Linked DNA regions of Homo sapiens: regions 1, 2, 3 and 4 are each linked to region 5. The links are contacts of gene promoters, found by promoter capture Hi-C in blood cells and fetal thymus (Javierre and others, 2016). All regions are on one chromosome and are shown on one strand. Each heading gives the region's core, a stretch centred on a gene start or on the middle of the fragment in contact. The rest is flanking DNA. Distances are from core to core; before and after follow the strand shown.

Evidence for each region. Contacts are between HindIII fragments. The CHiCAGO score rates a contact against its expected background, and 5 or more counts as called.
Region 1: a contact is called between a fragment that was not itself captured here and the fragment with the promoter of EMILIN2 in region 5, in 1 of 17 cell types (monocytes). The highest score is 7.6, in monocytes.
Region 2: a contact is called between a fragment that was not itself captured here and the fragment with the promoter of EMILIN2 in region 5, in 1 of 17 cell types (monocytes). The highest score is 5.6, in monocytes.
Region 3: a fragment that was not itself captured here is called in contact with the fragment with the promoter of EMILIN2 in region 5 in 1 of 17 cell types (monocytes); the score reaches 7.9 in monocytes.
Region 4: a fragment that was not itself captured here is called in contact with the fragment with the promoter of EMILIN2 in region 5 in 1 of 17 cell types (monocytes); the score reaches 5.0 in monocytes.

Annotation. Positions count from the first base shown.
Region 1 is chr18:2,734,955-2,739,440 of GRCh38, forward strand. It overlaps SMCHD1 (structural maintenance of chromosomes flexible hinge domain containing 1), which reads left to right. Exons shown (of 48, transcript NM_015295.3): 26 at 3,443-3,591; 27 at 4,478-4,486. Among named protein-coding and RNA genes, the nearest start is that of SMCHD1, 81 kb to the left of the region's middle. The HindIII fragment of the contact is 339 bases long and covers 3,068-3,406 here.
Region 2 is chr18:2,928,052-2,932,733 of GRCh38, forward strand. It overlaps LPIN2 (lipin 2), which reads right to left. Exons shown (of 20, transcript NM_001375808.2): 9 at 3,205-3,392; 10 at 1,014-1,107; 11 at 540-609. Among named protein-coding and RNA genes, the nearest start is that of LPIN2-AS2, 37 kb to the right of the region's middle. The HindIII fragment of the contact is 1,843 bases long and covers 859-2,701 here.
Region 3 is chr18:2,717,326-2,722,267 of GRCh38, forward strand. SMCHD1 (structural maintenance of chromosomes flexible hinge domain containing 1) reads left to right here. Exons shown (of 48, transcript NM_015295.3): 18 at 833-910; 19 at 990-1,109. Among named protein-coding and RNA genes, the nearest start is that of SMCHD1, 64 kb to the left of the region's middle. The HindIII fragment of the contact is 5,122 bases long and covers 831-4,942 here.
Region 4 is chr18:2,951,913-2,956,711 of GRCh38, forward strand. LPIN2 (lipin 2) reads right to left here. Exons shown (of 20, transcript NM_001375808.2): 3 at 2,592-2,687. Among named protein-coding and RNA genes, the nearest start is that of LPIN2-AS2, 13 kb to the right of the region's middle. The HindIII fragment of the contact is 871 bases long and covers 1,595-2,465 here.
Region 5 is chr18:2,845,016-2,849,553 of GRCh38, forward strand. EMILIN2 (elastin microfibril interfacer 2) reads left to right here and starts at 1,991. Exons shown (of 8, transcript NM_032048.3): 1 at 1,991-2,307; 2 at 2,794-2,916. The coding sequence starts at 2,174. RefSeq lists silencers at 2,209-2,258, 2,879-2,968. The HindIII fragment of the contact is 11,570 bases long and covers 947-4,538 here.

The DNA.
Region 1 (4,486 bases), core at 1,987-4,486, 110 kb before region 5:
CAGCTACTCAGGAGGCTGAGAGAGAGAATTGCTTGAACCCGAGAGTCAGAGGTTGCAGTGAGCCAAGATTGCGCCACTGCACTCCAGCCTGGGAGACAGAGCAAGACTCATCTCAAAAAAAAAAAGTTAATTCACCACGAACAAGTAGGCTTTATTTTTGAGATTCAGGGTTGAACCAACCCTGAATATACGCAAATAAAGTGTGATTCACCACATAAACAAAATTAAAACCGTATGATTTAATATGGTTTCAGTAGACGCAGAAAATGCTTTTGATAAAATCCAACATCCCTTAGTGATAAAAGCCATCACTGGACATTGAAGAACACACCTCAAGATAATGAGAACCATCCATGACAAACCCACAGCCAACATAATATTGAACAGGCAAAAACCGGAACCATTCTCCTTGAGAACTGGAACAAGACAAGGATGCCTGCTCTCACCAATTCTATTCAACTATTGGAAGTTCTACCCAGAGCAATCAGGCAAGAGAAAAATAAAAGGTGTCCAAATAGGAAAAGAAGTCAAACTGTCTCATCATTGTGGAGATGATTCTATACCTAGAAAACACTAAAGACTCTGGCAAAATCCTCCTGGAGCTGATAAACGACTTCAGTAGGGTTTCAGAATGCAAAATCAGTATACAAAAACCAGTAGCATTTCTGTACTACGTTTTAAGCTGAAAGCCAAATCAGTAACACAGTCCCATTTACGGTAGCCACAAAAAACACAAAATGCCTAGGAATACATCTAACCAAGGAAGTGAAAGATCTCTGCAAGGAGAACTGCAAAACACTACTGAAAGAAATCATAGATGATACCTAAAAAAGGGAAAAACATTTCATGCTCCTGAGTCAGAAGAACTAGTACTGCCCAAAGCAATCTACAGATTCAGTGTTGTTCCTATCAAACTACTGTCATTTTTCACAGAATTGGAAAAAAGCTATTCTAAAATTCAGATGGAACTAAAAAAGAGCTCAAATAGCCAAAGTGATTAATCCTAAGCAAAAATAACAAAATGAGAGGCATCACACTACCCATCTTCAAACTGTTCTGCAGAGCTACAGTAACCAAAACAGCATGCTACTGGTACAAAAACAAACACATAGACCAGTGGAGGAGGTTAGAGAGCCCAGAAATAAAACTGTACACATACAGCTATCTGATCTTTGACAAAGGCGACAATAACAAGCAATGGGAAAGGACTCCCTATTCAATAAATGGTGCCGGGATAACTGGCTAGCCATATGCAGAAGAATGAAAGTGGATCCCTACCTTTTACCATATACAAAAATTAACTCAGGATGGATTAAAGACTTAAATGTAAAACTTCAAACCATAAAAATTCTAGAAGAAAACCTAGGAAATAGCCATTCTGGATGTCGGCCCTGGCAAAGAATTTATGACCAAGTCCCCAAAAGCAGTTACAACACAAACAAAAATTGACAAGTGGGACCTAATCAAACTAAACAGCTGCACAGCAAAAGAAACTACCAACAGTGTAAACAGACAGCCTACAGAATGGTAAAAAATATTAACAAGCTATATATTCTAAAAAGGTCTAATAACCAGAATCTATAAGGAACTTTAACAAGCAAAAAACAACCCCATTTAAAAAATGGGCAAAGGATATGAATAGATAACTTGTTAAGAGAAGACATACATGTGGTCAGCAAATATGTGAAAAAATGTTCAACATCATAATCATAATCATGGAGAAATGCAAGTCAAAAGCAAAGAGATACCATCTCACACCAGTCAGAATGTCTATATTTAAAACATCAAAAAATAACAGATGTTGGCAAGATTTTGGAGAAAAGGGAACACTTATGCACTGTCGGTTGGACTGTAAATTAGTTCAGCCACTGTGGAGAGCAGTTTGGAGATTTCTCAACCTTAAATAGAACTATCGTTTGAACCAGCAATACCATTACTGTATATATACCCAAAGGAAAATAATACCATTTCACCAAATATACGTGCAGTTTTCTGTTTATCTCAGCACTATTCACAACAGCAAAGACATAGGTGCCTGTCGGTAGTAGATTGGATAAAGAAAATACACCACAGAATACTACACAGCCATAAAAAAGAACAAAATCATGTCCTTTGCAGCAACATGGATGCAGCTGGAGGCCATTATCCTAAGTGAATTAATGCAGGAACAGGAACCCAAATACTGAATGGTCTCACTTAAAAGTGGGAGCTAAACATTAAATACACATGGACATAAAAATATAGGAAAAGTAGTCACTGGAGATTCCAAAAAAGGGGAGGGTAATAGAGGAGCAGGGGTTGAAAAACTACCTGTTGGGTACTATGCTCATTACCTGGGTGATGAGATAACTCATAGACCAAATCTCAGTGACATGCAATTTATCCATGTAACAAACTTGTATACGTACCTACTGAACCTAAAAGTAGAGGAAAAATAAAGTGTAATTTAGAAATTTTTTTTAAAAAGACTATTAGTGATTTTAAGGCCAGATGTGGTGGCTCACACATGTAATCCCAGCACTTTGAAAGGCTGAGGTGGGAGGATTGCTGGAGGCCAGGAGTTTAAGACCAGCCTGGGCAACATAGTGAGACCACATCTCAACAAAAAATTAGGCAGACCTGGGGTGCATGCCTGTAATCTCAGCTACTCATGAGACTGGGGCAGGAGCATTGCTTGAGCCCAGGAATTGGAGGCTCCAGTGAGCTATGATCATTGCACTCCAACCTGGGCTACAGAGTGAGACCTTGTCTATAAAAACCAAAAATAAAAATAGAATATGAGTGATTTTAAAATCACAACTATAGAAGGCTAAATAAAAGTAGAGAGAAAGTTGAGGTCAGAATTCTTAAATAGAAAGTATTGGGAGTTTAAAAGTAAGTACAGAGTAGAGCAAACAACTTGAAAAAGTATGGATTAAGTGACAAAATATGGAATGTAAGAGGTATAAATTAATACAGAACTAAAAACACCTAAGAAGAGATTAAGGCCAAAGTATGGCCAGAAAGTTAGATCAAACTTCTTTTTTCTCACCTTGCTAAGAATAACGTCCACCTAGATCTCATTGAAAGCTTTCCCATAAATAGGATTCTTTTCAAAAAATAATTGAATATTGCTTTTCAGAATTAATCACATGATCTGATTTATATGTTACTTTTAAACGATAATGGCCACAGTGATACTTTTGTGGCAGAGCTCTAAAGAAATGACTTAAGAATTTTTATTTTATCTCACTAAAAAAATAGGGCAATATTAACAACAAAGACAAAGAGGATGCCTTTGTATCATATTAGTATATGAACCACACCGTTTCTGACCATAAAGAGACTTTTTTCTTGGGGGTGAAGAAGACGGATTATAATGTAGTTTTAAGAGTAAGATAAGTGGCAGTAAGAGAACATTAGACGAAGCTTTATTATTGTTAAATATCTCTTTTTCTCCTAGGTTAATTGGACTCCTGAGATTAACAAAGAACACTTGCTACAGGGTCTGCTTCCTGATGTGCAAGTACCAACATCTGTAAAAGATATGCGCTATTGCCAGGTTTCATTCCAAGATGATCATGTGTCTTTGGAAAGTGCGTTTACAGTAAGGTTTGTGGACTCATTATATTTTGCAGCCTATGGCAACAAAATACTGTCCTCCATTGCACATATATGAAAGTTGTTTTTAATGTAAAAATATTACGGTTTCTATGAAATATAATAGATTGTCTTTGGAATAAAGTGTCATTGGTGATAGCGATTAATTTTTGTTATCACTGTAATCTTGCACTGAATTGGCCTTCTAGTAGCTGGAACCTTCATTAAAGGAAAGTTTAGTGCCAGTAACAGTGAAAACACCTGCAAAATGACAAAGACGTGAAAAATACAAAAGATACAGTGTGATCAGTCAGTGTTGTTCAGAAGGAAAAATCCTTTCATTGCTTAGTGAGAATTTTTAAAGCTGAGAGTCCAACCAGAGTTAATATGTAGAACTCATATTGAAGGGACAGAATTAAGTGAATGTGTAAAAAAAACCTTTACACTGGCCTATCAATTTCTTGGCCACCTCTTTTCCAATAACCTCTTGCACTTTAATTCCTCTACCCATTTCTATACTTTACCCAACACTTAGGATAGTTCTGTTTTTGAGATAGAATTTTCAAATGTACTGCATTCTGACCGTAATGAGATCTCTCAATGAGTTGTTAACTCATCTGTTTTCTTGTCATAATTTCCTTTTAATCCAGCATAAATACTGTGACTTAACATGTCTGTAAGTTTTTGGTCCATATTCTCTACTATCTTTGCAAAGTGTCTTTTTCCTATTTTCTTTTGGATTAATAGCAGATTATATAAATTAAACAGTTATTTGAAGGAGTGTTATTGTATTTGAGTTATTGGATATGAACATTATATATGTGTTATTCTGTAGCATGTTGGAACTACTTCAATTAATGGTGTCACTAAAGACTTCTAACTTGTTAAACAATTTCAGACCACTTCC
Region 2 (4,682 bases), core at 530-3,029, 83 kb after region 5:
GGCTGACAGGTGGGCAAATCTCATTTATCTATCTTTGGAAAATGTGGTTCTCATGAGTTAAGAGGACCAACTAGGCTGATGATGTCTTCTTGGGGGACAGATTAAAAACCAATTGTGAGTTTGTATATAACAGGTATGTTAGCCACCATCTGCCCTAACCACACTGATGTCAAGCTTCTCTTGGCTACATCACCTTCTTCTTGCTGCTTCTTCCCATATTAATGGGAGAAAAAGTTTTTTTCATTCATTCCATATTTAACTTATGATTAGTAAAATCTCTCAACTTTTACAGACCATCAGAAACTAGTATTTATGTCTAATAAAAATGAAATAAAGAAGTGGCAGCCCTGCTAATTTCCCAGAGTTTGGGCATGAGATATTTTTAGTGGGTACATATGACTTTGATCTTTTATATTAAATATTAAGCTCAAGTAAAACTTTGAATAGTACCCAGTTCAGAAATATGCACATATGGATTTGTGTAAGTACTAGACACTGCGGATGCTTTCGGAAAGGCAGCAGATGGTGGATCGCCTCACCTTAGGCAAGCTCTTCTGGAATACTTGCAAGCTAAGGATCATGGGAGCTGCCAAAGCCCAGTTATAGTAACTGTGAGAAACAAAAATTGTGCAAAACCATTACACAGTGAAAGTGAGCAAGAGAGAGGGGAGGGAATCAGGGAGGGAGGGAGGAGGGAAGTGACATATAAAATTGCTTATTCTTTTCAATAAAGATGATCAGCTGAATTTTTTGTCACATGAATAACCTTCGCTTCAAGCACAACTTCTCTGAACAGAGAAGCCGTAAAATCTATCAAACAGAGTAACATTTCAATGCTTCTTTTAAAAATAAAATTGAAGCTTTACTTTCACTTCAAAGTCATTGCCCACTGGCTAATTTATATGAGATGACAAGTTTTATAAGAAGGAACACTTTTATAAGTAACAGTTAAAAATGGCACTTGTAAAAAAACTGCAAGAGTATTTAACAATTATAAAAGCAGGAGTATTTACCGATTATATATCCTTATTACAAGGTTAGGATTGTCTATAAGTCCAGGGTTTTCTGCAAATTCGTGATAAGTAATGATATGCTCCATGAATTTTTCTGCAATGTAAAATAATAATCAATTTGGTTAGAGATTACATAAATCCCTATATGAGATTATAATACTCTCTGCATTGCAGAAATTGAAGGCTAAAATCATCTGTCTAAAAAAACTAATTTTTGAATATTCATCAAAAGCAAAATGTCAGACGCTTTTTTTCCCCAGGACAAGAAAGAACACTTCTTTTCTATTCTCCTTTTCCACTGTCTCCCAGTGAAAACAAACAAACTAGTAAAAAGGGACATGACAGAGACTTTCAAAAAAAATACATACAGATGTGGCTAGAGAGGGACGGAAGACAGACACAGAAAGACAGACAGACACACACACACGAAAACTGTCGAAGTTCTATTCTCAGAGGAAGAAACTTTACTGACAGGCAACGGCATAACTGGGGAATATTCATAGGGGTCTTACAGCTTTAGCAAGCTACATTATATCAAAACATATCTTAAAATTGTTTGGGCCAGGCACAGTGGCTCACACCTATAATTCCAACACTCTGGGAGGCCGATGTGGGCCGATCACTTGAGGTCAGGAGTTAGGGACTAGCCTGGCCAATACGGTGAAAACCCATCTCTACTAAAAATACAAAAATAAGGCGGGTATGGTGGTGCCAACCTGTAATTCCAGCTACTTGGGAGGCTGAGGCAGGCGTGACAATCACTTGAACCCAGGAGATGGAGGTTGCAGTGAGCTGAGATGGTGCCACTGCACTCCAGCCTGGGTGACAGAGCAAGGCTCTGTCTTAAATAATAAAAACAACAACAAAAATTACATGTTACAATTGCTTGGAGAATTAAAAAAACAAAACAAGGCAAAACAAAAAAACCTAGAATTTGGCTCAAGGTCTGTGAAATAAATCCCAAGTTCTTGCAGAGTGAATGAGGGCTTCCCATGAATTTTTGTACCCTGTTCCTAAACCTGTATTCTCCTAGATCTAGGCTAACAGAGAAACTGCTCACTTGGATTGTTTCTCCAGGTAATGTGTGTATTACTTACATTTACTTGTCATTTCTGCCTCTTCCAATAAACTCTACTAGACTAAGTCACCAATATTTAAAACAAAGGTGTAACTTTTATATTTTACCTACATTTTGTATTTCGCATTCCCTCGCATATAATTTTTTAAACTGAACATTTAAGAGGATTACAGAAAGAATGTGACCTATTTAACTTAGTCCCTAGAATGAACCATTGGCCATAACACACTTTAAATTTCTTGCAAAATATAAAGCAAACAAACAATGAAGAGACAGGGAAGAGGCATAATGAGCTTCCTGTGACCCTGGAAAGGAAAGACTTCAGGAACACATGGTCCTGAGCCTCTGGCCATGCAGTCTGCCACATCACACCTTCAGTTCCTCTAAGGGAGAGGGAAGACAAAAGATGACACTAGTCACGGAAAGAAAATTTTCCCTTAGAAGAAAATCATACAGGGGCCACAGGCCAAACTGAGAAATACTAAGAGTTCAGTTTTAAAAGGAAGGTTAAAAAAAAATGCTGATGAATTGAGGACGGATGCACATGGCACTCAGCCCAGCCTATAGGCATCCTGACATGTCTGCTAAACTCCCTCCTGATTCCTGAGCAAGCTTTACTCTCGTAGGCCAACCCTCCAGCCTTATACAGAAAGTAATCCTCCTAATTTTTGCCAGAAAGACCACGTACTCAGTGGACAATCAATTTTCTACAACTTCAGGGCCCTATATTCATGTCTAAGGCCCAGTGCTTTCCAGAAGGGCAGCTGGGCCCCAGTTCCACAAATGTTTCTGTAACTTTACAGATGAGAAAACTGGTGCAGTGTGATGATCGCACCCTGGCAGCTCAGAAAACAGGGCGGCCTGATAACTCCCAACCTCTTAATTTGAAATTAGAGCCTTTAAGGGCACACTACCTCAAAGCCACTCCATAAAGAGGTGTCAATTAAGACCTTAAGTGAGGGTATAAGGGTCTGACATTACAGAACATACCTGTTACCTGCACAAGATCCCTAAAGAATGTAAATATCCTGAAATGGCTACACGGTAAGTTTTAACCAAGTGATGACCAGATTGCTCTCTGAAATGAAGATGGGGCACAAACACCCAACGTACCTTTTGAAATTTCTCCATTTTCACTGAGGCCCCCGCAAAGGGAGAGGGTAACGTCAGGCAAGTCCATGGCAGAATCTGAGAGGCACTCGGTGCCGCTATCTGCAGCTGCGCTTCCCACGGACTGTGGGGACTGGGAGCCAGAGAGTGTGTCAGACTCGGGCCACTGCCTGGAACCGGGCTCCGATTCACTGTGGACAGGGGATGGGGAAAAGATGTGCTTTATTACAACTCCTTGAATTCCTAGTTTACTGCATGGTTCTCTGGGGGCTCAAACCAAATAACACATCCGCTAAAAAGAACGGATGGACCTACAATCAGGCATAACTTTTCTTAGATAGGGTTTAGAATCATATCATAAATGACATGAAAGATAACCTAATATAGTACCAGTGAGAAATTAACTGTGAATATAGTAAATACGTCACAAAATCACCACGGTCATTCACAATAATGCAAACATTTCAACTGTGGCCTTTCTGATTTTTAATTAAAGGAGTAAAATAGTTATAAGTATTTATTTACATTTCCATGATGAAAATGACAGGGTAATTAAGAAAATCTGCTGTTTGGAAACCTTTGATCCTAACGTCCTAGAAAAAGCTGTGGCACTTTATACATCCTGTAGAAAATTACTGTAGTCCAAGGCTATATTCTTTAAAACCAAATCTTTTCTAAGTTCGCCTATTACCTCACAAAGAAGGAAGGAGAAATTAAACGAGCAAATTCTCTAGAGGCAAGACCCACCTAGAAAAAGAAATGTATTCAGAAATAAACTGGATGTAACTGTTATTCCAGGAGCTAAAGATGAGGTTACTGAATATTTTCATTTTTCAAGATAAGGCACAGAAGCCAGGTTTCAGAAGGTGATCAAGGGAAACCTTATGCAATGAAGTGTAAATTTGAGAAAGAATAATCATGAATGGCACAGCACCTTAAGTCTCACAGTCCCCAATGCTTACTACTCTATACCCTTTGAATAGGTATTTAATGTCACATTTGAGATATTGAGAATTTTCAAATTCACTTATTTTATTCAAAAAGCCAGTATTTTTATGTGAATTAAAAAAACAGTGACCCAGAGGTTTACTGGCTCTTTCAAACAAATCTCATCTTTGAGCAGTAGGTGGCAGCAGACTACAGATTATGTTTTAACTAGGTAACAGTTTCAAAACCTGTTTCCCATTTGAATCAACAAAAAAATTCAGGTTTTTGGATATTTTTTCCTCTTAATAGCCATGCACACTCATACCCACAAAATTGAGATTAACTGGACTGACAGAATGTTCTCACTGGAAACACAAAGTCAGCAGAACTGTTGTTATACTGGGAGTGAGGGGCAAGGCCAACCCTTCTGTGTTCACCACACCTGTCTCCTCTTTCTCCGGGGCACACGGCGAGGCCCCCTTGCAGTCAGGTGGGGCCACGTGAGCACATGACTGAGCCGTGAATATGGACGGAAGGCATACATGGTGCCCCTC
Region 3 (4,942 bases), core at 2,142-4,641, 130 kb before region 5:
AGTGTTCAAAGTATCCAAAGTTTCTTTTGCTTTTTTTTTGAGACAAGGTCTTACTCTGTTGCCCAGACTGGTACCTTCATAGCTCGCTGTGGCCTTGACCTCCTGGGCTCAAGTAGTCCTCCCATCTCATCCTCTCAGGTAGCTGGGACTGCTTAGCCGGACCATGCCTGGCTAATTTTTAAATATTTGTAGAGACAAGCCATCACTATATGGCCCAGGCTGGTCTCAAATTCTTGGCCTCAGCCTTCCAAAGTGCTGCGATTACAGGCATGAGCCACCACGCTGGGCCTGTTATGCTTTTATGTTGAGCTCCTGTGTTCCTTCTTAGATAGAAGTTCACAGTGTGAATGCACTATTGTACTGTTTCCAAGTGGGTAAGGTTGACTGCTTTTCTCTCTCTTTCTCCCTCTTTTTGGTCTGTGTGGTCATGTTACCTACTTGATAAACATTTCGGATTTGTTCATGAATTGCCTTTTTAAAAATTTTGTTTTTTTTAATATTTACATTATATAATTCTAGAGTGGGCAATAAATAAGGAATTTTTTGGAGAGGTCATGTTATTTGTCTTCTGTTGTCTTCCTTTCTCTTTAAATAGTAATTTTAAATAAAGTGAAAGAGTTTATAAGACTTGAAATAAAGAGATTTTAATGAATTGAAGAGTTAACTATTATTATTGCTGTTCACTTTCATAGGATAGTGTTAGATCTTTTGAAGCTTCAAAGCAGGTTTTAAAATACAGCAAATAGGTATTTGGTGCCAATGTGACATTGCGTATTTCATGTTTTACGTTGAATTTCTCAAGACACTATTGTTTCTTTTTTCTTTTATTAAGCTTCAAGTGGAAATAAAGAGATTATTTCGCATATTAGTCAACATGGAGGAAAATGGCCTTACTGGTTTAAAAAAATGGGTGAGTTCTTATTCTGAATGTTAAAAAATACATTGGTATTGTGTTGACTTGATTTTTAATTTCTTCTTAATTTATCCAGAAAATATTCAGAAGTTGGGGAATTATACCTTGAAATTACAAGTTGTGTTGAATGAAAGTAATGCAGACACTTATGCAGGAAGACCACTACCATCTAAAGCAATTAAGTTTTCTGTTAAAGGTAAGCAAAACAGTAATATATAATTATATATGCTAAAGGTGGCATTTTAAATCCAAAGAGAAAAGAGAGATAAGCCATTAAAAGATGTTTGAACAATTGGGTAACCATCTCGATTTTATTTTATTTTCTTACTTACTTTGAGATGGGGTCTCATTCTGTCACCCAGGCTGGAGTGCAGTGGCACAATCTCGGCTCACTGCAACCTCCGCTTCCTGGGTTCAAGTGATTTTCCTGCCTCAGCCTCCCGAGTAGCTGGGATTACAGGCGCCCGCCACCACACCTGGCTTTTTGTATTTTTAGTAAAGACAAAGTTTCGCCATGTTGACTAGGCTGGTCTCGATCTCATAACTTCTGATGATCTACCTGCCTCAGCCTCCCAAAGTGCTGGGATTACAGATGTGAGCCACCGTGCCCGGCCCATTTTGATTTTCAAATAGCTTTGTAAGTCTACTCGATAATCATATTCCTTCTGAATTTTGAAGACATTGTTTTCTACTTTTCATTGTTGCTGGTAAAGTCTAAAGCTGTCCTGATTCCTGACCCTGGGCATATTGCCCCTCCTCCCCCAAAACGTTCTCTGTTCCCCAGTCCTCAAGTTTTAGGGGAATCCCAGTTTCTGAAATATTCAATTGTATGATTTAGCATAGGCCTGTTTTTATCTAGTATCATCCAGCCATGTACCTCGTATACCCTTTCAGTCTGGAAATCCCTGTTTTATTTTCTAGGAATTTTTCTTGAATCACTTTGATTTTCTATTTTCTTTTTCTCTCCTTTTCTTTTCTGTTCCTTTCCTTTCTTTTCTTTTCTTTTCCTCTCTCCTCTCCTCTCCTCTCTCCTCTCTCCCCTCTCCCCTCTCCCCTCTTTTCTTTTCTTTTCAATGGAGTCTCACACTGTTGGCCAGGCTGGAATACAGTGCAGTGGCATGATCTTGGCTGGCTGCAACCTCTGCCTCCCAGGTTCAAGCGATTCTTCTTGCCTCAGCCTCCCAAGTAGCTGAGATTACAGGTGCCCACCACCACACCTGGCTAATTTATTTGTATTTTTAGTAGAGATGGTGTTTCACTATGTTGGCCAGGCTGGTCTCGAACTTCTGACCTCATGATCTGCCCTCCTTGGCTTCCCAAAGTGTTGGGGTTACAGGTGTGAGCCACTGCACCTGGCCTTTTTTCTTTTTTGGAGATAGTGTCTTCCTCTGTTGCCCAGGCTGGAGTGCAGTGGTGTGACTGCAGTTCACTGCACCTAATTTTTTTTTTTTTGGGAGATGGAGTTTTGCTCTTGTTGCCCAGGCTGGAGTGCAATGGTGTGATCTCGGCTCACTGCAACCTCTGACTCCCAGTTTCAAGCGATTCTTCTGCCTCAGCCTCCCGGGTAGCTGGGATTACAGGCGTATGCCACCACGCCCGGCTAATTTTGTATTTTCAGTAGAGATGGGGTTTCTTCATGTTGGTGAGGCTGGTCTTGAACTTCTGACCTCAGGTCATCCGCCAGCCTCGGCCTCCCAAAGTGCTGGGATTACAGATGTTAGCCACCGCACGTGGCCCTGTCTAATTTTTAAAAAACATTTTTTTGTAGAGACAGGGTCTTGCTATGTTATGTTGCCCATTTCGGCCTCAAACACCTGGCCTCAAGCCATCTTCCTGCCTCGGCCTCCCAAAGTGCTGGGATTACAGGCTTGAGCCACTGTGCCCAACCTGTTCTTTCTTTCTAAAATATCTAATGTTAGGATGTTGGATTTCAGGATTGGTATATTATTTTTGTTTTTCCTACTTTCCATCTCTTGGTTTTGTTTTTACTACCTTATTGGAGATTTTCTTAACAGCTTGATGTTCTATGCTTTCTATTTTTTCCTTTTTGCTACCATTTTTAGTTTCTAAAATCTCTTTTAAAATAATCTTGTTAAACAATTCCTTAAGCATTCTCTTCCTACTTCATGAATTCAGTATCTTTATTCTCTGAGGATATTAATAATAGTGGGGGTTTTTCTTACAGCGTTTTTCCTGATTCATAGTTTGTTTCCTCCATGTTGTTTTTTTATTAGATATTCTGTTATATAATTAGTGATTTGCTAACATTGAAGAATAGGGCACTTGAAAATTTCCTTGGGGTAATTATGATATGAGAATTTTTAGGTCTTGTCTCTTTGGCTATTCAGATTCCCCGGAGTGGAGCCTTTCAGTCACCTGCTAAAAGGGTACAAGACCTAGCTGCCAGCATTTTGGGAACCAAGCTGAGAAAGACCATTTATGTTTGTAGGGGGGCGGTCCTCATATTTAGTATATAATTTTCCACGTGATTTTCCTATTTTCAATAAACACTTTCCTATTTTCAGTGACACTTTTACATTTAATTGATTAGATTTTAAAATACAGACAGGGTCTCACTATGTTACCCATGCTGGCCTTGAACTCCTGGGCTCAAGCTATCCTGCTTTCTTGGCCTCCCAAAGTGCTGAGATTACAGGTTTGAGCCACCACGCCTGGTCAGTGACACTTTTAGTAGTGCTGTGTCTCTCACTTCTAGACCTTTTCTTCTTTCCCTGAAGAATAAACCTTCCATCTTTTGCTGGGGATGAGGAGGGTCGTTGACTAGCACATGCATTGAAGGATGGGGATCTGTGAAACTGTTTCTCAAACTGACTTCAGCCAACCTTCTTGTTTTATTTCAATTTCACTACAACTTTATACAGCCATTCCTGAGACTTATGGGCGTCTGATAACGGTGAATCAGATTCAGTCTCTGCTTGCTTTGTTGTTTGAGTATTTGATGTTCTTGGGTCTTTCTGCTAAGTCAGTTACACTTACTCATATGTTCTTTGGCTTTCCAATTCTATTACTCTCATCTTTTTTCTTGTTTACTGCTTTTGTAGAGTCATTGTTACAGGGTTTTTGGAGAGAACTGATCTAGGTAGCTGTGATATCAAGAAGGCCCACCTTGGAGTGTGGTTTTCTTTTTTTTTAAATGTTTTAGGAGACTTTTTTATACATAAATCTACTGTGTTCTTTTAACACCTGTGGAACATATTTTCATAAGATGGGCGTGCTGTAGTTTAAGCAGTTTCCTGTTGATGAATCGTGTTGATTGTTTCCAAGTTTTTGGCTATTAGAAACCGTAGTGCTTTTTGGGGAAAAAAAAATTATGCTGCTTTCTGTACGTATGTTAGAATCTCTTTAGGGTGATACCAAGAAGTGGACATCCCAAAAGGCTATGCCATGGTACCTTCACTTCTCACTATGAGAGTTCCAATTGACTGCATGCTCATTCCTGGCTGAACTATATATTCATTTAGCATAGTTGGTGGTGAAACTGCTTCTCTAATTTTTAGATTGTGTACCTCTTCTAGCCATTATTGGACATTGTATGCCAATGCTTGTTCATTTACTATGCCCATTTTAATAGTTTAAAGCTGTGGTTCTCAAATTTGAGTTTGTATCAGAATCACCTGAAAGGAAACACAGCTTGCTGAATTTCACCCTGAGTTTCTGATTCAGCAGGTTTGAGATAGGCCCTAGAATTTGCATTTCTAATAAGTTCTCAGGGGATGCTAAAACTTCAGGACTAGAGACCACACTTTGAGAACAGCCAATTTATAGGAGGGCTTCATGTAGTCTGAATTTTCCTTGTTACACATGTTGCAAATATTTTCTCATGTCGAGCTTCTATTTAACTTCATCATATATATCATTTTATAACTATTGAATATCGTGTTTTGCCTTTAAAGCTCTTTCCTATGAAAAGGTATAATGGCTGGGCATGGTGGCTCACGCCTGGGGAGGCAGGTAGATAGCTGGAGCTCAGGTGTTCAAGACCAGTGTGGGCAACATGATGAGACCCTG
Region 4 (4,799 bases), core at 780-3,279, 110 kb after region 5:
AGTAAATTTTTAAACCATAAAGCATTTATGTTTAAAAATAAGAAATATTCCTTCCTGTAGGAATTCAAAAGAAGAAAATAAGGCCCAATATTTAGAAGCAGTCAAACTCCTAATACTAAATAAACGATCAAGTCTGGTGTTCAGTAAATTCATGTCTTAGCCATTTGTTTCATTCCTTTTTGTATCATCAGAGGAAATGGAAGGTACATAATAGAGATAAAAATTAACTTCAGGCAGAACGTGGTGGCTCACGCCTGCAATCCCAGCACTTTGGGAGGCAGAGGCAGGCGGATCACCTGAGGTCAGGAGTTTGAGACCAGCCTGGCTAACATGGTGAAACCCTGTCTCTACTAAAAATACAAAATTAGCTGGGCCTGGTGATGCATGCCTGTAATCCCAGCTACTCAGGAGGCTGAGGCAGAAGAATTGCTTGGACCTGAGGGGGAGGTTGTAGTGAGCCGAGATCATGCCACTGCACTCCAGCCTGGGCAACAGAGCGAGACTCCATCTCAAAACAAACAACAAAAAAATTAACCTCATATAATTTAAAATACTCAAGCTTTTAAACAATAGTTCTGAAAATGTATAGGTTTCTGTAATTATTTTTTTATTAAGCTTTTGAACTTAGCTTTGATAAACATATTACCCTGAAGCTAAAGTTTGATTTAGCTAGGAGAAATCTGTGTTCACCAGAAACACACACTTACAGAGAAATTGTAATAAGATATTCTGAATGTCCAAAAGAAACCCAGATGAGAGGTCGTGGTCTCTGACTTTGAGGATTTTTAATTCAATGATCTTTATTTTACTTACTGAAAGCTCTTTTTGTTTCTGGTGGTATTTCTTAGTTCTATTATAGCAATGTTTGTAGGATGAAGATAACCTGAACGCCTACCAGCAAGAAAATGGTTAAACAAACTATGGTATGTCCATACTATGGAATACTGTGCAGCTATTAAAAGCACAGAGTTAGGTTTAGAACTAGACTTGAAAAGAATGTTGATGACATATAATTAAATGAGAAAAATCTGAGAGAAAAAAATCAAATAAATGGCAACAAACTGGGTTTTTGGTCATCTTTATCCTACTCTAAATGACGAACCCCTAGAGGAACAGAGGCATGTTGTATTCATAGCATGTGGCATAGAGTAGTAATTCCAACATTTGTTGGATAAATTAACAATTTTTTATTTTAAGGAGAAGCATACTACACAAGATAAACTCTGGTCAATGTAGTCATATGTGGAATAGGGAGAAAAAGGCTGGAAAGTTGACATTTTCCAAGTTGTCCTTGCTGAGCATAATTTTTAGCGGAACTGTCAGAATAAGCCATGAAAACGAGGTTAACATCAATAACCCAGTCCTCTCGCTTACGGTGCCTGCTGATCTAGAAGTTCAGTGTTATGAATTATAAATAATTTTAAGAAACATACAAAAAGTGGTTTTTTTTTTTGACAGATGTCATTTATTATGTTTCATTCTGCTCTTTGCCTCTGTCTCTGATAAGGAAAAATGTTGCTTAGGCCAAGTAAATGCAAACAAGGTATTACAAAGATAAGTAATGAAGAAACTAGAAAAAGCACCAGTCTGATCAAGCTTCCCCTTCATAAATCATAGTGTTTCAATGCTGCTTTACCTACTGGTACCTAAGTTGTTGGTTTCTCAATCAAAAAATGATAAACAATCTCATTTTGCTATCGTATTTTTTGGTAATAATTTTCTTTGTAAATTTATTGTATCAAACTGTAAGTTCATCTTCAAAGCCAAAAAAGTAGTCCTGTATCCTTAATAACTTGATGCTTATCAGTTTTGCTATTTGAGACTTTATTCTTTATGAAGAATGATGTACTGATGCCTTTGAAAGAATTTTTAAAAAGATGCACATTACGTGATCTGAGTTCTTTAGTGAGAATGTAAAATCTATTATTAATAAATAAATAAATAAAAAGATCCACATTGAATCCATCAAGAATCCGTCGTTAACTAGCGTTCAAATCAGTACATACAGAATGTGTGTGCTGGGGAGGGGGGATTTTAACAAATCATGCTCGTTTGCTAGAAGAAGTCAAACATGTAATCACTTATAAAAGGATATAGGCCAATTAATTTAACTCTCTTGAGATCATAATAAATTAATTCACCTGACTACTCAAGGTGAGGGATGTAATATCCCAACCAAAATGGTAAACATGAGTCCCAGTCCAAAGGGCACATGTGGATAAACACATAGCCAGAAGAGAAATGCCCTACTCAGGCAGAACTGAATGTATTCAAGTCAATATGTGAACCAGAAGCAACACTAAGTAAGAAAGCTCATTAAAGCTAGAAAGTGATGTGCCTTCCCTTAGAAAAAGTGCAAGTATGTGCATTCAGCATGCTCCCTGCACCCTGAAACTTTGTATGGAGAAAAATTCCTCATCCCTTCAGTTCCTTTTTGACAGCTTAGTTCTTCAACATGAAACTAAAGCTTGTCTTGCCAACAACAGTCCTCTGTACAATCAACCATAAAAAACTGCTAAACGGTCCGTCTGGGCCACGTACCAGAGGCCTGAGCACACTGTGTAAGGAGGGTGTAACCCATGCAAACTTACATATTCTTCTTCAGTCTCCTCAACAAAGAAAGCTTCTCCGTTATCACCCAACTTCATGTGAAGATCCACTGCACTGCCGTTGATTTCTATATCAATCTATGGGAGAAACAAAGTATGACTTAATGTTCAAGGAGTCTTTCCTTCAAGTTAAACTAAACCAGAACTCTGAGTTCTCAAGTCAAACTTAGCATAGTTTTGAGGTTCCTAGAACTACAGCCTCTGAGAAACACTGCTACTTGCCCCTACCCAACCCCTAAGAAGCCAAATGGAGCTGGCAGAGGGAGAGATGGACAACCAGGAATTGAAAGAAAGTGTTTCACCATCTATTTTTACAACATATAAAAATTTTAAAATTATTTTTCAAATTTAAAATGGGGGAAATATTATTGTCAAACATTTGCACACTTTCCAAGTTATGGCACAGGCAGGCCTCACCTCACACGGTTCAGATACACACAAGTTTCAGGAACCTCAGTATGTGAGCTGTGAGCAACTGCATCAAGTACAACTTCACCGACAGCTCTTCTGCCCACAGATCACTACGTAAGTAACAGGTGACAATCAGTGCTGTGATTGGTCACTGATGATGGCGGTTCCATTTTCCCAAGAACCAGGTGAAACGATGGGATAAGTAATATCATGTCAAAAAAAAATTCAGGTAGACATATGCGTTGGGCCATTTTTGTGTTTGCTATAAAGAAATACACAAGGCTGGGCAATTTATAAAGAAAAGAGGTTTAACTGGCTCATGGTTCTGCAGGCTGTACAAGCACGGCGTTGGCATCTGCTTGGTTTCTGGGGAGGACTCAGGAAACCTTTACTCACGGTGAAAGGCGAAGTGGGGGCAGACACGTCACATAGTGAGAGCAGGTGCAAGAGACTGGGGGTGCCACACAAAGGTGCCACACACTTTTAAAACAATTGGATCTTGTCAACTCAGCAAAAACTCATTCATCCCCAAGTGGATGGTGCTAAGCCATCCATGAGGGATCTGCCCCCATGATCCAAACACCTCCCACCAGGCTCACCTCTAACACTGGAGTTCACATTTCAACATGAGACTTGGAGGGGACATCCAAACCTTATCAACATATTTTGTCAAAATGCTTGTTATAAAACTCCTATGTATGGGCCGGGTGCAGTGGCTCATGCTTGTAATCCCAGTACTTTGGGAGACCAAGGTGGGCAGGTCACCTGAGGTCAAGAGTTCGAGACCAACCTGACCAACATGGTGAAACCCCGCCTCTACCAAAAATACAAAATCGGCTGGGCATGGTGGCGCCCGCCTGTAATCCCAGCTACTCGGGAGGCTGAGGCAGGAGAATCGCTTGAACCCAGGAGGCGGAGGCTGCAGTGAGCCGAGATCACGCCATTGCACTCCAGCCTGGGCAACAAAAGCGAAACTCTCTCAAAAAGAAAAACAAACAAAACAAAACAAAAACAAACAAAAAAACCTCCTATGTATGAATAACATAACCACACTGAAGTGAGGAAGAATGGAACTAACCTTACCTTGGAAACAGTATTTTGACTTGTATTATAAGTCTAAAGACATATTTGATATGTTACTCCAAACAAACATTGTGCAGTAGTTAATACATTCACAGAGATTTGAGTTAGCAATTCTGAAACTATTTTGTGTTTCCTAGGATTGAGTAACTAAGCAGATATACTGACGATAATCAGAACCATGTTTCCTGTTGAAAGAGAAAAAAATTATAAATAAGGAGGGGGAAAGAAGCCTGCGATGGTGGATGGGAATTGGAGGAACCCGTGTGCCCTCATGATTTTCATATATAGATGCAGGGGTGTGTGTGTGTGTGTGTGTGTGTGTGTGTGTGTACACGTGCACACATCCACCCATTTCCTGGCTCTGCCAGCTTGGGCTGCCTAGAAGCAATGATACCTCAGGAGTTACGAGCACGCCTAATAAGCAGATCTTTGTTCGTAAATACTATTCTTCAATAAAAGGAACTGGCGTAAAATAATTAATGCCAGAGCTGAGGCAGGGAAAGTAGCTTCTTCTGGAACACCTTCTGGTACCAGGAAGGAAGGGTTCAAAAACTGATGGGAGCATTTCAAAGGAACTCAACTTGAAGGACATACACTAACAGTCAAACTGGGACAATCTGAGCAACTAATTTCATTTTTGGAGGCTATCCATTTAAACAGTGTAGCTGGGAAAATAGAAGAATGCTTCTTTAACAT
Region 5 (4,538 bases), core at 741-3,240:
GTTATTGATAGCTGATTAAATATAGTATTGTGGTCATCTCAATGACAAGTTGGCCCTTATACTCTTAGACAACTTCCTATTATAACTTTGATTTGACGGAAAAAACAGATTGACTTGATCAGTTCAATGCACTTTCAAGTTTGAGATTTACCTGTACCAGACACACATTGGAGTTGTTCTCTGCTAATTGTAGACACACACAACTTGTGTGTTTCCCCCATTTCCCCCCCTCTTCCTCTTCTTCATTTCTATACTCTGTTTCTACTCTATGAGTCTTTACGGCCAAGATGGTGTTAGGACAGGCAGGATAGGGAAGTCACACAGAAAGATACAGATTGGGTTACGAAAGACAGCTTTTTATCCCTTTCTGTTATTTCCCCCCCACGGTGGCTCTTTTGAAGGCTGGGATGACTTCAGTCCACTATTTGCATGATCTTCCGCTTAAGAGTCCAGGGACAGATGATGTCCTTACATGGTATAATGTTCTGCTTGGCCCTTGTAGTTTCTACTTAGGGACTTCTCTTTCTTTCATCTGCAAATCAAAAGGTCCAACAACACCATCAAAGAATATTAGAAACAAAATAGACCAATGGCTTCATTTAGTAAAGTAGGAACATAGCAAACGTTTTTATTTTTTATTTTTTGCGACAGATTTTCACTCTTTTTGCCCAGGCTGGAGTGCAGTGGTGAGATCCCGGCTCACTGCAACCTCCATCTCTCTGGTTCAAGCGATTCTCCTGCCTCAGCCTCCCAAGTAGCTGGGATTACAGGCATGTGCCACCGTGCCCGGCAAATTTTTTTTTTTTTTTTGTACTTTTAGTAGAGACGGGGTTTCTCCATGTTGGTCAGGCTGGTCTTGAACTCCCGACGTCAGGTGATCCACCCGCCTCGACCTCCCAAAGTGCTGGGATTACAGGCGTGAGCCACCCCGCCTGGCCCATAGCAAAGCTTTATTCACTTAACGAGTCATGGCCAACAGCGTCTGGTTAGCTCACAGAGGCCACAGTTTTATCTGTGGAGTCTGGTAACCACGCCACTCACGACCCTGTACATTGATTAGATGCAGCAGGTCATCTCAAACACACAGCTCTCTCCAACACCCCTTAGAATACAACACTTGGGTGGTGATTTTACTTAACATTCTGGTACTTCATCCCAAAAAGACATCGGTAGAGATTAGTGTAACTCAACAACAGGCAGAAAACATACAAGAAAGTTTAAGACGGATGTCTAGCAGTGCCTGAACTGTTAAGAAGCAAACGTGAGTAAATGCCTTAGTTTCAATAGAAAAAGAAAGTTCACAGTGGGACCTCAGAAGCAGAGGCTGTGAGATCACCTTTCAAGAATTGGAGGAGAATTGCAGTAAGTGATAGAGCCGGACGCTGAGCTGCAGCAGCCTCTGGGAATTGGCGGGGCTGTGGCTTGTCCTGTCCTGCCGCCCCCCGCGTGGCCTCGGAAACTGTCAGATGGTGCCTAAGGCAGAGTTGGGCAAAGAAAGAACCAGCGTTCGTTTCCTCCTGGACTCTCTAGGTCCATGGAGCTGGTGGGGGAACGGCCCTGTCTTGCCCGAGGAGGAAATTCGAGTCGAGCCCCCACTCCTCTCCCCGCGGGACTGATAAACATGTCCCTCATTCGCCCCGGGAGGCTGGCACCCAGGCACGACGCGAGGACGGCCAGACTCGCCGACGGCGGCCGCGTCCCGGGGGGCCGGGAGCGAGCCTGTCGGAAGGTGGGAGGCGGAGTCGCTCGGCATCTGGGAAGAGACCAAAGGAATGAGTCATTGGAAATGCTGTAACGTAGACCCTTATCCCAAACCCTTTCGCCCCTCCACCCCGAGCCCCCTGCCGAGAAGCGAAGGGACTGGAGACGGGGAGACTTGGTGGGGGGAGAGTCACGTTTCGGAGAGGGAAGTGAAATAAAGAGGGCGGCACCCGGGGGGACCTGTGCGTCATTGAGGGACCGGGGAGAAGCGCAGGGCGCACGGGGCTGCAGAAGGAGAAGTAGGAACGAGAAGCCGGAGGGGGCGGCCGCGGAGCACTGGTTGGAGCGCCGCGAAGCGCCCGAGCCTCTTGCCTTCGCGGGCGGCGCCCTGGCCGCCGGCAGCCTTGTGGCCGGTGCCCCGATCCGCCGCGCTCCGGACCCGGGCAGGCGGGGCGCGCCCGCTGCGCGCGGGATGTGGCAGCCCAGACGGCCCTGGCCCCGCGTGCCCTGGCGCTGGGCGCTGGCGCTGCTGGCCCTGGTTGGCGCGGGGCTGTGCCACGCCGGCCCGCAGCCCGGGTATCCCGCGCGGCCCAGCGCCAGGAACAAGTAAGTGCGCGCCCCTTGGCTGGCCCCAAACCGCCTACCCCTCCCCGGCCCCCAGTTGAGCCCCAGAGCTGCCCTGCCAAAGACGACGAGCGGCAGCCGGGGGCCTCCCTTGGACTTCCCCGGGCGGCTCCCTCTGCGGGGGACCGCGCGCTCCGCAGCCGGCGCCTCAGGCAGAGCTGACTCCGGGGGCGTGGGCGCAGAGAGCGTCCCGCAGACCCGGGCGATCCGAAAACGACTCCCAGGAATTCCATGAGCCCCTGGGACCATGGGTGCTTTTCTTTCCCGTCTTGGTCGGGTCCAGGCGCGCGCTCTCCAGAGGCGCACCCGGGCACCCTCCGGCGTCTGCTCGGTGAAGCTCCCGCCTCCGCAGAGGGCGACGGGCCCCCCCGACCCTCGCTCGGTCTGGTGCCGCAGTCCCCTCTCCCCTGGCCTCATTGTTCTCCGGGTTTACCCCGTGCCCCTCTCCCTCTCTCTCCTGCACCCCAGGAACTGGTGCGCCTACATCGTGAACAAGAATGTGAGCTGCTCCGTGCTGGAGGGAAGTGAGAGTTTTATTCAGGCTCAGTACAACTGTGCCTGGAACCAGATGCCCTGTCCGTCGGCGCTGGTGTAAGTCCTGGAGCCGGGGAGCGGGCGGGGCGCGCCCGGGCCGGGGCGGTGGGGGTGGGGTGGGGTTGCTGCGCTGGGCTCCAGTCCCTCCGGTAAATCCCTTCCAGATCCGGTGAAAAGCCCGCAGCGGAAAAGCGCTCCGAGCGCTCGCGGGGCACCGGCCACGCTGGGCTATTTAGGGAGTGGGTGCTGCCCGAGTGAGTGGGGAGGATGCGCGCGCCTCGGGAGTGTGGGGTCGCGGGGGCGTAGGAGAGGATGAACAAAGCTCCCACTCCCACTTCTGTTTTCTCCCTTTCAATGTTTGTTTGTAACATAAGGCAGCTGAATCTAATTGGATCCATATTGTGTGTTCTGGGGCACACAGAAGATTCCAAAATGTATACTGCTAAAGACTATTCCGTATAGGATTCGCTGAGAGGTTTGGCTAAGTAGTGTTCTAAAACGAGTGAGTTCTGTCCGTATGTCCCCATAAAACGGAATCTTCCAGTTTTGTAGATGTCTAAGCTAAAACCTCAGGAACACTTTGCTTAAAAGTGTGGCTCCCCAGCATCCCTCCCCGCAACTTAGATTTGGAGATTCTCTAGAGATTGTGGGAGAGAATGGCCGTTAAAGACAGGGGGAAGAATTAATCATCTTTTTGCTTATAAAGATTTCCCCATCTTAAAAAAAAAAAAAAACAGGAAGCAATGCAATAAAGTACAAATGCCGTTAAATACATGACACTCATTCAATTGTCATCAGGCAAGTCTTTGGGGGTTTTGTATCAGTCTGATACCGGAAGATGGGCCAGTGTGAATAAATGGCTGTTGAGGAACACATGTGATGGCTGAAATTAATTGTTTTCCACTAAGAATAAGTTGTTTGTCTTAGAGCACAGTTGTCATTACAGCAGAGAATAGTCAGTAGGCGGATCTGTCTTTGGCAAAACCAAGGGACAGACTGGAACTTGTACTCCAGGAAACCTTATTCCAGAGAACAGTAGATGAGCCTGTAGTCTTATGGGAAGTGGTCGCTGGGTCCACCCCACGTGGGCTTCTGGAGGAGCTGCCAACAGGGTTCAGCTAATTCCTGCTCGGCAAAAACAAAGTAAAACAAACAGAAACTTAGACGAGGTCCCCATTTCCTAATATACAGTGGAAAACGCTGAAATTGAATGCCCAGCTAGGCTATCTCTTTGAGTTGGATACATTGTCAGAGAGATAAGGTACTGTCATCCAACCTTAATCTCTTAGTAAGATTGAGACCTCATCGTCTATGGCCAGCAGTCAACGACATCAGAACCAAGCAAGGTTTTTACACTGTGGGAGTGATACAAACTAAGTATTCAACTCAGTTTGAATGCATTTGTTTAAAATTAGAATTGAGTTATTAGTCAGGAATATTTTATTCATCTTATACAAGAACTGCATGGTGTGGCTTGCTATAACCTTAAAACTTACTGGTGACAATTCGGAGATAAATGAATTTTTCATTTTGGGAGGTAATGCATTTTTGTTTAAAAGATGGCTTGTTTTTATTTTCTCAAATTATTTTAGCTGCTTGGAAAACCAAAGGATGATTTAATTGTTCTATTTGACCAAAACTCAGTGAAACTTGGCTGTCAGTGGGGAGTGAATCGCCTC